2 separate regions of the Homo sapiens genome follow, and region 1 is linked to region 2. Evidence: promoter capture Hi-C in human tissues and cell types (Jung and others, 2019). All regions are on one chromosome and are shown on one strand. The core of a region is centred on a gene start or on the middle of the fragment in contact, and the rest is flanking DNA. Distances in the headings are between cores, read along the strand shown.

Region 1 (2,700 bases), core at 63-2,562, 200 kb after region 2:
GTAAAGCCGTATATAGCTGTCACAAAGATAAACAAATAAACCAATAAAAACAAAATAGAGAATTTATAAACAGACTCACTCATATATGGATAATTGATTTATTGCCAAGGTGGCATTGATATGTAATGAAGGAAAGATGGTCTTTTCAACCAGTAGTGCTGGTGGAATTTGTACTTAAATGTCAGTAAAAGGAGTATTGATCTCCTCCTCATCAAACACACACACACAAAATAGATTCTAGATGAACTGTGCTGTCCAACATGGTAGCCACTAGCAAGTGCCTATTTGAATTCTAATTTAATTAAAATTAATTACAAAACAAAATGACTGCATTTTAAAAATTTAAACTTAAATTTAAAAATTTAACTAAAATAGGATTAAATAACAGCCGGGTGCAGTGGCTCACACCTGTAATCCCAGCACTTTGGGAAGCCAGGGCGGGGGCATAATTTGAGCCCAGGAGTTCGAGACCAGGCTGGGCAACATAGTGAGACCCCATCTCTATTTTTCTTTTTTTAAGTTTACTTTGTCAGTCTCCCTGGCTGCATTTTAACTGCTTAATAGCCTCCCGGGGCTAGTATGGAGTGTATCATTGTAGATGTAGAACCTTGTCATTTGCTGAAAGTTACAATGAACAGTGTTAGAAGTCAATATTTTATGGAGCAAAACCAAAGGAAAAGGGCAAAATTATTATACATTGAGGCAGAGGGTGTTGCAAGGGGAGATTTGGTACTTAAAATTGAAGAACATATCTTTCGGGCAGAGGAAACAGAAAGTACCAAGTTCTGAGACAGATGATCTTACTTACCAGGTGTGTTCAGAAAACAGCAACAAACCTAGGATAGCGGGAGTATGGTGAGTAAGTGGGGCGTAGGAAGAGAGGAGAGAGGCAAGTTGGGTGGGGAGGGGAAGAGTATGGGCTTCATGACAATGTTGTAAGACCTTTGGTTTTTTACTCTGAAATGAGATGAGAAGACACTGAGGAGTTTATTTTTTTATTTTTTTTTTTAATTTTTATTATACTGTAGTTTTAAGAAACGGTGGGATGCAATCTGACTTCCTTTAGTTGGATTGCAACTGCTCCTGGGTTAGGGAATGCTTCTTCAGGAGCATGGGTGGAAAAGAGTGATGAGACTATGCATATTGTACTTTATAAGATACAATTTCAGTATCTTAATTGTATTGGGAGACCATTTCAAGTAATGCAAAAATCCAGGACTGATTGTACAAGATAATAGCACTGTAGATGGAGGAAAGGTGTTAGATTTTTCTCTTTGCATAGCTATGAGGTGTGAGAAAACAAAAAGCCAAAAATAACGACACAGTTTTTGCCCTGAGTAATTGAGTGTTTGAATTGTCATTATTTAAGATGTGATCAGAAAAGGTTTAAGGTGAAAGATCATAAGCTCTGTTTTACACAATTTTTTTTTTTTTTTAGTTTGAGATGTCTGTTTTTCCATGTTCAAACAAGATTCTGAGGAGGCATTTGAATATGGGAGCAACCGCTTCTTTATACTAATGAATGTTTAGTTCTAAAAACTGCAGGTGGTGGCAAACTCTGTGCCAACACATATTTTGGCAGAAATTGCTATAAATTAGTATCTTCAAAGGTTTTTCATTTAACACAACTTGGTAGCTTCTATCTGTCTCACAACCATTGAGGACATTGCCTCATACACCAAAACAGCCCAAACAAATGGTGTTCCTGCATATGTGTCTTCTCAATGAAGCTCTCCCGCCTGTGCAGTACAAATGCCCAGACAGCACTGCAGGTGCTTCTCATCCAGTGCAACCACTGAGTTGGGCCAATGGAAATAATATCATCATGGATCTTCCCAAATGATTCTTATGTGTACTTAGGTTTGGGAATCACTGTTTTAGACTTCATGGTTCTCAAACTTCAGTATGCACTGGCAACTCTGGTATGCGAGAATTAAACATAACAAATGTGAGAGGACTTTACAGAGAAAAAAAGAGAGAAGACTTTACAAGTGTAAGATATGAATTCCAGTGCCAAAATGTTTTATTATTTTTTTTCCAGCTTGGATAGGTTGGATTGTGAGTGAGATTTATGTAACAATCCACCACTGCAAACCTGTAAATTCTATGTTCCCATAAATGCATCCGGATCTATACACATACACATGTTATAGGAAGTTTCATTCTGAAATTAGACAGCGATAGGTTGATAAATATCTCTAGTCTTTGAAGTTTTAAGAAACACACACACACACACACACACACACACACACACACACACACACACATCCATTCTCATTGTTTGCAGTCGTTATGTTCCGTAAAGTAACCAAGAACACTGGATTGGAAAACACTGAACAAATTACTCCTGGGGGAATCACAGTACAATTAGTTTCTTGCAAGCCTCTGGTCACAACGGTCTCATTCACCAATCAATACATAATCTTGTTTTATGTGTGTTTCAGGTTAAAGACACCTTATTTAATACATACTGTTGATTCATTAACATTGAGCTCATGGCCAAGAGCACTGTAGCTCACGCCTGAGCAAAGCTTATCTAACATACGTGTTTTCTTTCTAGGGCTCAGTGCGTGCAACCTTCTGTGCTTAGGAGCACTCGACAACATTTCTGGGAGTAGGGGGCGTTTTAAACAGCAAAATCACCAATGAGTAGCACAAAAATGCAAAAAAATGTGGCACTTAATAGACTACAAATGAGAC
Region 2 (2,700 bases), core at 35-2,534:
AAGAAAAAAGATGCATTCTGCTTTGTTTGCAGGCATGAGCTAAACAAGCATGTTTAGTTCTTACGGGTATTTCTGTCATTTTCTCACTCTTTGACAAACCTATCTGATCTTTGACAAACCCACTCTCATTATTCCATAAGAAAGTGGTGTTAAAGGCTTATGTTTCTTCCAATTTGTGATTACCAAGAGGCACTTAAGAACTCCAGGATTTCCATTTGTATAAAATCTAGCACATTATCAGTAAAACATCTTGACATTTATTTTAAATAGATTATTTATCTGCTATGAACCATGTGACATGCTTCTTGTTATGTGATAGTAACTCCATTATTTAGACATTTTAAAATTCCATTCAAGAAACAGTTGTATCCATGGACCAGCCATTCAAAGAGTAATTTTTCTTTAATCATTGATCTTCCAAATTCAACTTTACTCCTCTCTCCTTTAAGTCACCTGAATTACATCGTCACATTGTTCAGTGTTTGTGTGAATGTGTATGCATGTGTGTATGTGGTGGTGGTGGAGGTCCCTTTCTTCAGTATTCCCTCATTTCCTACTTTGGGCCTTTTTGGAAATGTTATTAAAAATTTTGATTATAGAATGGTACTTCATATTCACAGCATGATGCATTCATCAACATAAATCTAGCCAAAGCATTTCATTTGTGGATTTATACACCTGAAGCATTAAAATAAGAAATGTTAATTTCTTGCAGACTACTACCAGATGATTTTAAATATCTGCTAAGCAGGAATGTCTGTTCCCATGTGGGGAATTTCCATAATAAAATCCTGGCACCCTCGCTGAAGAGTACAGTTTTATAGAAACAGAGAAAAACAACAGCAAGTATTTTCCCTGAGGACGGTTTTAGCTACAATTTCCCAATGCTGCTTAGTTATTTCTGTCTTATTTTATGCTTTTGTTTTGAAACATAATGCAATTTTACCTGGATGCACTCCCGGATAATCAGGAATGGCTCAGTGTGTTTTCTGGCTCTTGCAAATGCAAGACCTCCAGAAAATCAGAAGGCTCCACCGCCTTGTCCCTTCCCCCACTCACACCTCCAGCTGGGAGAAAAGGGTTAAGGATTATTGGAAAATAGAAGAGAAGGGAGGGAGCCCCAAGGAGGCCCACGAACGGGAGGCCGCGCCTCTGGGTGCAGCGGAGCTCGAGCGCTGTTGTGTGTTTGGAAGGAAGGATGCTGCTGCCAATTTGTGGGACCGCTGCTGCGAGGAGTGGGCGTGGCCTCGGCGGTGTGGATGCTTGTTAGGAAAGATGCTGAGTGCTTTTCAGTGAGGAGTCAGGGAGGTGTGTGTGAGAGAGAGAGAGAAAAGAGAGAGACAGAGACGGGGAGAGAGAGAGGGAGAGAGAAGAGAGGGAGGAGGGAAGAAGAAAAGACGGAGGGAGGTGAGGAGGAAGGGAGGGGGAGAGACAGAGACCTAGAGGGGCTGAAGACCCAGACAGAGCTGGCAGAGCTACTGAGAAGAGGACTGGAGCGCTCTGAGAGCCTCTCAAGATCTTTTGGGGGAGCCCAATAAATGTGAACATGGGATCTGTCACGGGAGCTGTCCTCAAGACGCTACTTCTGTTATCTACTCAAAATTGGAACAGAGTCGAAGCTGGGAATTCCTGTAAGTATACAGCAAATGATTTAAAACTTGCTGGGGGGCTCTCTGCAAAACTTTGATTCTGTTGGTTTGATGATGATTATTTGCAGCTGGGATTGCTGCAAAGCGTATTGCTGTAAACCAAGCATCACTTAAAAATCTTGCCAATGTGACCGGTTAACACTTGTCTCTCCTCTTGGTCTGGTCAAAATAGGCAAAGTGTCATTTCTCTTTTTGTCTACTCGCAGAATCTTACCCTCTGGTCTTTGAGTATTCATTGAGAATGCCCAAGTTCTAGTAAAACATGAAATTAGCATCTTATCGGGGGAATAGCCTGTGAATATCTTCATTTCTTCTTTTTTAAAGAACTACTGAATTTTATTGGAATTATGTCTAAGAGGAAAACAACTGGCAGACTTTACATTATGCTGCATTGGCTTAGATTTCTGAAGTTTGCAATTGGGCAGACCAGTAGCTGCCTGCATCTTTAAAATAATGCAGGCTAATAACTGAAATGTACTGCAGGCTTCAGGAGCACCAGCACTGGCTGAGGCGAGTCTCAGTATTAAGAGCTGTGCCCTCGCTGCTAAGAGAATGAGACTTAGCGCTCTCCGGAAAGAGGAGCCTCTTCCTACATTTCGCTTAAAGGAAAACCAGTCAGGTGGTCTTTCAAAAGTAGGATTCCTTTGTGGTTGAATGCTTAACTGCATAAATTTGTAATTGAATGTTCTGATGAAATAGAACCTATTTAGGGAAGATTGAAATCTTATTTATAATTTAGATATCATCCATAATAATTTGGCAGACTCCCTTCATCCACTCTTTATTAGAGATAGAAAAAGTTTTAAAAGTTATCTTTGGCTTAAATTCTCTAAATGGGAGAATTTTCCCCTCCTGATTAATGACAAACAAGCTTGGCAAATACAACTTTTTATTTTTTCTTGGATTTTAAAGGAAAAGCTCATTTGCTTTCCAAGAACTGGCTATGAGGCCTGTCCAGGAATTTATGTTGCTGCTGTATCATCAGGCTTAGATTTGGGGAACAGAGGCAGTAATCAGACATTTGCTATGGCATATCACTTGACTATGTTAA

What was found. The method cuts DNA at HindIII sites, captures the fragments that hold promoters and counts their contacts. A contact is called where the count stands out against the background at its distance.
Region 1: a fragment that was not itself captured here is called in contact with the fragment with the promoter of CNTNAP4 in region 2 in 2 of the 25 tissues and cell types used here (dorsolateral prefrontal cortex and mesenchymal stem cells).

Annotation. Positions count from the first base shown.
Region 1 is chr16:76,481,012-76,483,711 of GRCh38, forward strand. The region is part of intron 12 of CNTNAP4 (contactin associated protein family member 4); the gene reads left to right. Among named protein-coding and RNA genes, the nearest start is that of LINC02125, 150 kb to the right of the region's middle. The HindIII fragment of the contact is 4,754 bases long and covers 1-2,700 here.
Region 2 is chr16:76,276,117-76,278,816 of GRCh38, forward strand. It overlaps CNTNAP4 (contactin associated protein family member 4), which reads left to right and starts at 1,285. Exons shown (of 24, transcript NM_033401.5): 1 at 1,285-1,631. The coding sequence starts at 1,547. The HindIII fragment of the contact is 9,673 bases long and covers 1-2,700 here.